Linked DNA regions of Homo sapiens: region 1 is linked to region 2. Evidence: promoter capture Hi-C in 16 types of primary human blood cells and fetal thymus (Javierre and others, 2016). All regions are on one chromosome and are shown on one strand. The core of a region is centred on a gene start or on the middle of the fragment in contact, and the rest is flanking DNA. Distances in the headings are between cores, read along the strand shown. Region 1 has its middle 77 kb from the start of RUNX2-AS1. Region 2 holds the start of SUPT3H (SPT3 homolog, SAGA and STAGA complex component).

Region 1 (5,631 bases), core at 1,373-3,872, 280 kb before region 2:
TAGATTCTAGAGATAGTTGGGATGTGGAAACAACAGGACTTACTATTGTTAGGGATGTGACGCAGTGTGGGGAAAGAAGGCCTCAGAGAAATGGGTCCCCTACCTGGCTGGGGCTTCAGTGCAAGGTTCCAGAAATCCTGGCTCCAGAAGGGGAACTTTCCCTTTCTTATTCTTTGGAATATGGGTGGCCCCTTCCCAGCCCACACCCAGCCCTCGAAAATAGCTCAGCTCTGACACACCTCACCAGAGGCAGCCCTCAGAAACATTTTCCCAGGAACCTGGAAGGAGGAGAAAGTCGATAGCCTTGGGGGACTGGAAGAGAAGAGGAATGGAAAGAGGAACAGACCTGTCTTCAGGAGAAGCAACATCTCCCTGCACTGCAACCAGGCCATTGCCTTTGATGGTTCAGACTTGGCTAAGTTGCTGCCTGCTCTCTTCAGAAGCACCGGCATACAAAAGGGAGGGCTGAGTGTCTGATGAACTCAGCCCAATAATATTCACTTCTTTTATTTTCCAGGAATGTCATGAGACCCACAGGGCAATCTTCTGGTTTTAAGACCTGGTGAGTCAAGTCTACAAATACCTCTGACTCAATCTGATCCCAAGTTCTCACCAGGCATCTCCTAGGAACATGGCTCAGCAGGAGAGCTGGAACTGACCAGCCCTCTGCAGGGAACAGGAGGGTTGGTTTCTCTGCTTTGGGGTTTGGGGAGGGAGGGGGTGAGAAGGGCTGGCTGCAGTGGAAATGATGGGATTCTTGACTTGACACTGACCATGCTCACAATAAGAGCTGACATTTATTGTGTACTCTCTAACTCCAAGCCATGCGTTATCTCTTCTAATCTTCACAGAAAACTAGAAGTGGTTTCTGTCATCAATCCCATCTTACCATTGAGGAAATTGAGGCTCGGCTATGTTAGGAACCCTGGTCACTGGCACAGAGCTGTGATATGAACCAAGGCAGCTGATGCCAAGGCTATTCCATGTGAGGGAGGGCATGTGCTTTCTAGAGTTTTTGCAGGCATGGGAGGAGGACTGAGGAAAGCTAATATTTGAGGAGGGTCTGCTACACTCTAGGCCAGTTATATGCCACCTTGACTGCACATTAAAATCACCTGGGGAGTTTTATAAACACTATCGGTGCCCCTGACCAATTAAATCAGTATCTCTAGGAGTCATACCCAGACATCCTAGGTTTTAAAAGTTCTCCAGGTGATTCTAATATGCAATAAGGTCTGCTCAATAAAAGCAAGTTTCATGTTTTTTATTTTTTTTTCATTTAATGACCCTATATCCATTTGTAAATGGGGAAGCTGAGGCTCACAGAATTTGGATGGCTTGCACAAACCCCATGGCTGATAAGACCCATGTCTTGATCTATATCTGGCTGATTCCAACACCCATGTTTGTTCAGTTCATTCCATTCTCTCTCATATTTGGGCATCCTCTATTTTGAAAACATGTGATTTTTTTCTATTATAAATTTCTTTTACAATTTTCATTTTGTTTGTTCAAGTCCAAGTGCTGTTTAGGTCAGCTGCCTGAGAGTAGCAATGCAGTCTATAGCCACTGAGTCAGGAGGGTTGGCCCAGGGGCAGCTGAAACCACGGCCTTGGCTTCATCCAGGCTCTGCTGCAGCCAATGGACCAGGATCTCCGAAGAGATGTCCAGGAGCCCTGGCTGGGAGGTGCCCACTGACTCTCCCAGGCAGAATACTGGCCATCTTCTGTGGCTTTGACCCCTAAGGGGCCACCATCTGAGAATGAGAAGGCCCAGCCCTGGGGAAATCCCTAGTCTCTGTTTCTAGCAGTGCTAGTGATTTCCCAAGGAGTGACATTAGAAAAGTCATCACACATTTATTTCTGTATATATCATTCAGAGCCTAATTTTCTGGTGGCTGAGGGTTGAGCTCATCAGAAACAGACTTCATCATCAATTGATAATAAAGCCAAGTCAAGACAAGGGAGAAGGGCAGCCATCCAGATGGATTCAAGCAGCCAAGAGGTGCTTCTGCTCAAAGACTACCTTTAAAGAAGGGAAGAGAAAGAAGTGAGAGCAGATACCTGTACACCCATGTTCATAACAATATTATTCACGAGAGTCAAAAGGTGGAAGCAACCCAAGTGCCTATCCATGAATGAAAGAATAAACAAAATGTGGCACAAACATACAATGGAATATTGTTCAGCTTTAAAAAGGAAGGAAATTTTGATATATGCTACAAGATGGATAAACTTGGAGACCTCTGCCAAGTGAAATAAGCCAGTCACAAAGGCCAGTACACAAAACATTGTATGATTTCTTTTGTATGAAGTTCCTGGAGTGGTCAAATTGATAGAGACAGAAAGCAAAATGAGGGGGAGTTAGTGCTTAAAGGATACAGAGCTTCTGTTGGGAAGGATGAAGTTCTGGTGATGGTTGCCCAACTGTGTGAATGTACTTAATGCCACAGAACTATGTACTTAAAAATGGTTAAAATAGTAAATTTCATGTTGTGTATACTTTACCACAATAAAAAGGTGGAGGAGAAGTTTGACACCTTAATTCACAATTTTGTCCAAGCACTTGAAAGATCTATATATGGCATTACCATAAATGTTTATAAAATGGGAATGGGAAGAGCTGATAAAATAAATTGCTATGGAGAACATGATAGATCAGGTATGGGTTAAGCACCCCGGAGGCTCCTGAGGATGAGGATTACTTACCCAGTCCTGGACTCTAACTAAACATTAATGCCTCCTCAAAGATGTCTGGTTTTTTAGTCATCAGGGTGTCAAATTCTAGTAAAATGGCTTTGTTGAGACTGTGTGGATGCAGGTTGGGAGAAAGTAAAGTCTAGAGCCTGACACTTTCAGAACCACTCTTACACTCATCTGCATTATAAGCAAAGTGTTGCAACCTCCAAGCATTTCACAGCCAACCTTCTGGCTCAGGTCACTCATTCCCACTGGCAACACTGGCAAGTGTTTGGGTCAAGAGCTCCATGGTCCTCACCCAACTTCCAGACACCTCATCCCTTTATTGCTCACCCTACTCCAACTATTCCTTGAAGGCACCAAGCACATTCCCACCTCAGTGCCTTTACACTTGCTGTTCCTGCTGCCTGAAATGCTCTTCCCTCAGATATCTGCAGGCTGTCTCCCTCATCTCCGTCAGCCTTCACTCAAAGTCACCTTCTCAAGTGTGCTTTTCTGGCCACCCTAGTTAAAAGTGCCACCCTCCACTCTACCACATCATCTTCCTGTCCCCCTTGCTCTGACCACAGATGCTATCACTGTTCCACTCATATCCCCAGGGAATATGCCAGTGGAGGAAATTGCATGTGCAAATGCATGAGGCTTGGAAGACTGTGGCCTCAAAGGCCGTCTGAAATGGCTGGAGTGGAGCGTCCATGGGGCTGGGGGACTTCATGGAATGGCTTAAAGGGTAACGGAGGACAGAAGGTTGAGGGAGTTTGTCTACCAAGCTAAGGAATTTGAACTTTAGCAGGCAACGGGGAGCCACCAAAGGGTTTTAAGTAGGAAAGTAATAGATTTGATTTGCCTTTTAAAAAGATTACTTTGGCAGCCAGTGGAGTGGAGGCTGAAATGGATGGGATGAGGCTGGAGGCGAGAAGACCAAATGTAAAAGTAACATCTTGAACATTGATGAGCTCAAATGATGTTGCAGCAGAAGTGAACATAAGAGTGACATCCAGCCAGCCAGTATTGGAAGCAATTTTTTTTTTCTAGGAATAGATTGAATTTCAGCAAAAAGAAACTTTCCTGCCACCCTTTATGACAATCCTGTGAACGCTGGCTCCTGCCCTCATTCAAGTTGGCCACCCTTGGTCTTTCATGCATCACCATTCAATAAAAGCAAGCATGGGTTTTATGGGATTGTTTGGAGAGCCCTGAGCCAAAGTTTTCTACTCACTTAGGCAAGGCTGTTCTGCCAATTCTTAAATTGGCTGTTTTTTACATATAGGGTGTGAAAGATATCTCTATGCATCTCTAGGAACACACCCATTTGGAAGGAGACATATGTGACTATATATAATATCTTTATGTGCTTTTTGAAGGGATGTTTATACAACTTGCATATTATTTGGCATGAATATTTTTGTAGAATGGAGAAAGGGAGAGACAGCATGAGAAAGCTATTCCTATGCCATAACTGACTTTGGCTCATGAAACGAAATGCAAAATAGATTATGTTCCTTAGCAATGCCTCCTGGGTTGAATGGCTCCCAAGTCAACCCACTTAATCCTTCCTCCTGGAGGGTCACTCACCTTTGAACCTTCTTTTCTAAAACTACCATTAAAAAAAAATAACAATGATGTAGCCCAGTCCAGGCCCTACTGAAACCCAGGCTCCCTACCCCCAGAGGAAGAGCTCACCAAAAGAGTCATCTAGCTTCTAAAACTCGGGTTGCTTGAAGAACTTGATGGAAAGAGCAGGGTAGTAAAAGACAGCATTTTGGCTTTAACAAGGCTAGGAAGCCTAGAGTTGGGCCAGCTGTATAGTCTGAACTAACCCAAGAATATTAGAAGCCGGGGTCACATGGAGCTAGGACACCACCATTAATGTGGGGAGCAGAGACAGTCTGGCGAGGAGCGGAGGGAACGACTGCAGCCCCCTGCTGCCAGCTCCCACGTGAGTCAACCAGGAGGACGGGGGGACAGCTAGGATAGGCAGGCAGGAGGACTGATCCTGCAGGGTGAACGGGCAAGCTGCGCCCAGCCGTATGGAGTTCACTTGGGCCCTCTTCACACCATCAAGCTCCAGGACTTCCGGGGGGAGCCAAGGGTGACAGATGTGTCAGCCGGGACAGGCACCTCAGAGAAAAAGCCTCCTTGGTTTGTTCCATGGTGTTCCCTTGCCAAGTCCCCAACCCACACTGAGCAACCAAGCAGTAGGACACCCCATCTGGAGAGGAGGGAGGTGATGGCTCCATTCCCCAAAGCAATAGGCAGCAAGGTTTCCGACAAGGATGTTCAGTAAGTCAGCGGAACTGGCTGAGTCCTCTAGCACCTTCCATTTGCTTGGGGAATAAAGTAACACTGCCCAGCCCTGGACACACTTGGTAAACATCTGGTAAGAGGATAATCCTATTTCAGCATTCCATGGTGCCCTGGGAGCAGACGCTGGCTCTTAACAATTGATGCCTCTGGTGTCTGTTGCCACCTCTTACCACCATGCCCTTGCACTTAGAAGCAAATAATCCCAAGAGATGGCAGGGCCATATTCAGTTCCCTAGTTGTCCCATCCAGGCACTTTTAATGCCCAGTCCTTTCTCCTAAGAATTCCTCTGAGACCAGAGCTCCCAGCCTTGCCACTGTGTCTCTCCCTCAGGACATCTTTTCTAATTTGGGTCTGAGCTTTTCCATTCCTTCATTTCATGCCATTCCTTCTAATGATAACCCTTTGTGCCAGGCTCAATTACATACAAAGCTTAAATGAGCAACCCCAACTCTAAATTTGGCCCTGTCCATTGAAGGGGGTGGGGGTGGTGCCTTGGTCATTTGGCTTTGCTCAAAAAGAAAGATGCTACTCCCCATGGGGAAACAACGCCAAGGAGAGGGGGAAAATCTTTTGCAGAAATAAAAATCTAGAACGAAGAAACATACCAGTGCTGGCTGTCCCTGG
Region 2 (5,685 bases), core at 1,064-3,563:
TCATCAAAGCCTTAACTTCAGCAACAGCTTCGCTGTTTTAGCTTTGTTATAATTAAGATACCCTAGTACCATTGATAGTTTAGGATATTTGATATGAATGTAATGCAAAAATATTTTTGGCCCTTTGTATATAGCAATGGTCTCAAACTATGAGCAAAATTATGGCTAAATCAGATTTTCAAAAATGGATTTTAAGAAATTCCAGGAGGTAGGAACCTGGTTAACTCATGTGACTTTAAAAATCAGATCTCTGCCAACAGCCCAATTCAGTTTCCTAAGAATAAATTTTTAAACTTCCTGTATCAATGCCTTAACTCAGTTTCCCTTCTCCATGTGTCACTCTCATTAACTTTTGTTGTGCGTGATTTTTTTTTTTCTTTTTTTGACGGAGTCTAGTTCTGTTGCCAGGCTGGAGAGCAGCGGCGTGATCTCGGCTCCCTGCAACCTCCGCCTCCCAGGTTCAAGCGATTCTCCTGCCTCAGCCTCCCGAGTAGCTGGGACTACAGGCACGTGCCACCACGCCCGGATACTTTTTTGTATTTTTAGTAGAGACGGGGTTTCATCATGTTGGCCAGGATGGTTTCGATCTCCTGACCTTGTGATCTGCCCGTCTCGGCCTCCCAAAGTGCTGGGATTACAGGCGTGAGCCACCGCGCCTGGCCTGTGTGTGATTTTATGCAGGCTGGACACCAGTATCCTAGAATAAGATGATCTGGATTCTATCCTGATAAACTGGATCAAACAGGTACTCATCTGATGCAGGTGAAACTCCAGTGCAGGAACTTCTATGATAACATTAACTGAACATAATTTTAATTGAAATGATCTACTTTTATGTTTCTTTAGATGTGAACATTAATTTTTCTCTTAATCTTCTGTTAACTAATTTCTTGGTAATGTACTCAAAAGAGCTTTCAACCAGTCTTCCCATGTAAGAAGTTATCACCATACTCACTCTGTTACTTTCCCTTATACTGCACACTTTGCTCAGCAATGAATTGATCCCTGATTTACACATCAAGCTGAGCTCTCACATCCTAAATATATCTATTCTTTTGGAATTTTAGGTATTTGGCAAATATTGAAGCGTTGGGGAGATTAAAGAGAATCAAACACAACACTAGCAGACTCAACTACAATCCACAGAGGAAATAACCAAATAAGTTGCTATTTTAAACAATTTAAGCAAATAGAAGGAAGGGATTTCAGAACTCACAGTATCTATAGGCAAGAAAATAACTGAAGCAGTGATGCTTAAAAAGACTTGGTGAGGGTTAATACTTGAATCCCTATAAAATACAGTATTTTATAGTATTTGACAACACAGGTGTGAAGGTGAGCATGGATAACCAGTTTTCTTCTCTAAGCAGGCAATAAGAATGTTAAATATAAATAAGACTTCATATAATATAAAGAGTGAAAGACTGAAAGCATTGTCTTACGACTACTGTATTATTTAAAGAACTACATCTATATCAATTAAATGTGGCAGGACAGAATGTACAGTACAATACTGGGGGTGCAAGATTTTAAAATGAGGAACAGGCCAAAATCTAAACACAGAATCGTCCAAAAAAAAAAAAAAGCCTTCAAGTAGAAAAAGTTTTCAATAACAAAACATGGTAGTTAAACGCCTGCGTCTAGTAACATGAGTTGGGGAAAAAACATTAATAGCAGATTAATGAAACAGATTCTGTGCGAGGTCAGGGTAGGGAGTGATGGCGCGCGGAAGCGGCGTAAGAGCTGGTTTCGCCGTCCCAGAAAGGGTTCCACATCCACACGCCTGTACTGCGGCCCTGCGGGGAGCGTTCAGACCCCTCCGTTTCCCTTCACCATTGTAAACGCGCAATCCCATTAAGATCCCGTTCACTCCAATTCCTGGAAAGAAGCTTAGAACGGTGAATCTCTTCCTCGGAGTTGAAAATCAACTTCCAGTGCCGGTCACCCAATCCTTCAAAAATCCTAGCCCTCTCGGGCCCAATTCCTAAAGAATTCAAGCCTGCACCCTGTACACCCTGACCGATCTCAGCTCGTCCCCACTCCGCTCCCAGCGTCCCCAGCTCTAAACGCCGCCGCGTGGCTCAGCGCTGCCCAAGCCGGGCCCTGAAGGCCGCGCACAACGCCCCGCCCCCGGCGAGCGTGGCGGAAGTAGCTCGCTCGGGCTGGGAGAGCGCGCGCCACCTGGCCAAGCGCGCATGCGCCCGCACTGCCAGTGCGGGGGGCGTCCGTATCGCTTACTCCTCAGTCTCCGCAACCCCCGCCCCACCGAGAGTCGGGCTCACGCCATCTTGTACCCCCCCCATCGCCCCGTCACACAGCCGAGTCACCTTTTCCCTTTCTACACTCCACACTCTCAGTCCCCCACCCCGCCCCTTTCCAAGCGTGTCCCGGGCCGCAGCAGCAGAAACCGCACCATCTCCACCCCCACATTCTCCTCGCGGGAAGCGCAGCAGTGCCTCCAAGGGTTCTTAAAGCAGAGGTTGTAGGGCTTGCGGGGGGCGGTGCGGGGATTCGGGCGGGGGAGACGTCAGAGAGCCGGGAGGGACGCAGAGCGGAGATCCCAGCGTCGCTGGGCCCCCGCGCCGGCCACGCCCTGGCCCCGGCTCGAGGGCGGCTGCCTGGGTCTTCGTGGTCTACGCCGGAGTGTTGAAGGGAGGGCGGCTGTGGGAGGCGCTGGCCGGGCGCAGCGCCCTGGTTCCGCTGCCGAGCGTGGAGTTGCCTCTCGACTCCTCCCTTTTGGCGGGTGGGCGTGGGGTGAGGGGGGCTGGGCTGTGCTGAGAAGCGGGGTGCGCGGGTCGTCTAGGTAGTGTGGGGGCTGCCGGAGGAATCATTAAAGAGGGAAATTGTTGCTTTATGGCACGGCGAGAGAAGAGTTAGGTAGTTAGTGGGAGTGTAGCATCCAGAAAGAGGAAAAGATCCGCTGTGTTCTCTGTGGGGTGAGCTCACGTCTGTGACCCCTGGGGAAATTATTTAGCTTGTCTTTGCCTTGTTTTGGTCTGTAAAATGGCGATCTTATAGCCTATTTCAGAATTGTGAGGATTATATGAGAAAATACACGTTAAACGCTTAGAACAGCGCCAGGTGCTGCTCAGTACATATTAGCTCTGCTTTTGCTCTCCACGTTTTAGGAGTTCAGAATGACTGTGACCTTATTTTCTCAGAGAATCAGGACACTTGGTCTCACACGTGAGAGTGAAGTTATGAAGACAGTGATATGTAATATTTGACACTCAGACGATCCTGGACGTAGTATTACTGTACACGTGGATAAATTAGCATTTCTCCAAGAGGCTAATAGAAATGTTAAGTTATTTCGGTAGAAAGAAATGTGTGTGTATATATATGTATATACATATGTGTGTATATAAGTATATGTATGTGTATATATGTATGTATGTATTTGGAAGGAGAGGACCTGGGGTCTTAGTATATGTGAAGGGCAGACTCTGGAAGAGGAATTAAATTCGCCCTGCAAAGATTTACTTGAAGGACAAAACTTGGGGAATTTCTGGTGAATGTTTCAAAGAGGCTGAATTTGCCTATGAGAAACAGTTCGTGAGAGTACTTTGCAAGAATGGAATGCTCTTCATTGTGCTATGGAAAGTTTCTTATCTCAGGATATTCGGGACGTTGGAGCGAAGTATGCCTAAGTCTAGGGCTGCACTTTTCACTAGCAGTTTCTGCCTTGATGGAGATGTTCCATAATCTGTGCCTTTAGGCACTAGTGGTAGCCTAGGCACAGTGGCTCTTCAGCACTTGAAATGTGATAAGTGTCACTGAGGAACTTAATTTTTAATTTTATTCATAAATTAATAAATTGATTTACGTTTAAATACCCACATGTGGCTAGTGGTAGCTACTGCATTGGACAGCACAGGGCTACAATTTAGATTTTGAGAGTCCTTCCGAGTCTTGATATGGTTGAGTTTTAAATCAGATAAGCCAGCTCTTTGGAACATTTATTGCCATAGGGAATTGTAATTATATTCAAATAATGCCTTTCATTCAAATACTGCAGTTCAGACCATGGGTCTGTTAGTACTTATTTACATCTTGACAAATTAAAGCAAAACGTTGTCTCCTAGGTTGTACAGCTAATGCCAGATTCAGAGAGCTATGACAGTATTAACTGGAGTTTTCTTTAAACATTATTGTACTATTTTGTGATTGTCGGTTTCTGCTATCTTTTACCACTTTGGTTGGTTTTTCAGTGAGAAGTTTCCAGCTCTTATTCAAGTTTTTTTCTTTTTTAACCTTTTGTGTAATAAAGCGATTTGAAAAATTGTAACTCTTGAGCATTAGGACATTTTAGAACTAGTTTTATGGTTATCCAAATCTTTTGGAGAGATAAGTGAAATTAGGTAATAGATGTTTCACAAAATTACTTTACTTGAAATATGTGCATCTGTTTTTTTTTTTTAAAGCAAGTGTATATAAAGTCAAATTTGAAAATAAAACTAAAAGAACAAATAAAAAACCTTTATAGGTAGCGGTAGCACCCTTAACCTTGGCCTGATGTCTGTAAAATGGTGCCCTTGGGCCAGGCACGTTGGCTCATGCTTGTAATCCCAGCACTTTGGGAGGCTGAGGCCAGAGGATCTCTTGAACCTAGGAGTTCAAGGCTGCAGTGAATCATGGTCAGGCCAGGCTTCCAGCCTGGGCTGCAGAGGGAGACCTTGTCTCTTTAAAAAAAAAAATGATGCTCTTGGTCTTAAGGCTGAAGATAATTGTTAGATCTGGAGCAATAACTTAAAGCTCACGAGTTAAATCAGATGGAGAGAATAGCTCATAATATACAAATCAGAATGGGGTGCTTTTATGGGTGACTATAGTATCTTAATTTTTCTGAGACAGTCGTAGTATAAAGCCTGATTGTTCCAGCACAATTATTTTATTTAATAGAACCCCTTTCACTATCAAAATGTTCGAATTGGGACCACATCATAATGTCACCCTACTGTTAGCCTTGTTGGGACTTGTAATATATAGTTTTAGGATGATTAACCACATTGCAATATCAGAAATACTTTATTATTTTTGAGATGGAGTTTCACTCTTGTTGCCCAGATTGGAGTACAATGGTGCGATCTCAGCTCACTGCAACCTCCCCCTCCTGGGTTCAAGCGATTCTCCTGCCTCAGCCTCCCGAGTAGCTGGGATTACAGGCACATGCCAGCATGCCTGGCTAATTTTTGTATTTTTTGTAGAGACAGAGTTTCACTATGTTGGCCAGGCTGGTTTTGAACTCTTGATCTCAAGTGCTCCACCCGCCTCAGCCTCCCAAAGTTCTGGGATTACAGGTGTGAGCCACCGTGCCCGGCCAGAAATATACTTTAAAACAGTGACAAAATTACTGTTTTTGTGTCTAAATAATAAATAAGATACCTGGAATAAGGCCAGCAAGTGACTTTCCCATTTAAGCCACTGATAATTTTAAAATTTTGCTTTGAATATAAACCTTTAGCAGCTTGAGTTTTGGTTCCCTCTGGAAGAAAATCATCTTTTGGTGGGGGTGACTGCATGGTAGTCTATGTCAGTCAAATCAGGTGATTGAGTATTTGTGTTGAAATAACACTGATTTTATTTTATGGTGAGGTTGAATAGTGAAATCCGTCAGAAATCTGATTATGTATTAGAATGTTAAAGAAGGGTTTTGCTTACAGTTTACTTAATGAAAAATAATTC

What was found. The method cuts DNA at HindIII sites, captures the fragments that hold promoters and counts their contacts. A CHiCAGO score of 5 or more calls a contact.
Region 1: a contact is called between a fragment that was not itself captured here and the fragment with the promoter of SUPT3H in region 2, in 2 of 17 cell types (endothelial precursors and neutrophils). The highest score is 5.3, in endothelial precursors.

Annotation. Positions count from the first base shown.
Region 1 is chr6:45,650,960-45,656,590 of GRCh38, reverse strand. No RefSeq gene overlaps it. Among named protein-coding and RNA genes, the nearest start is that of RUNX2-AS1, 77 kb to the right of the region's middle. RefSeq lists an enhancer at 1-895. The HindIII fragment of the contact is 5,632 bases long and covers 1-5,438 here.
Region 2 is chr6:45,374,562-45,380,246 of GRCh38, reverse strand. SUPT3H (SPT3 homolog, SAGA and STAGA complex component) reads left to right here and starts at 2,313. Exons shown (of 11, transcript NM_003599.4): 1 at 2,313-2,479. All of the region lies in intron 2 of RUNX2 (RUNX family transcription factor 2), which reads right to left. RefSeq lists silencers at 2,022-2,071, 2,392-2,671 and an enhancer at 1,838-2,381. The HindIII fragment of the contact is 7,128 bases long and covers 1,892-5,685 here.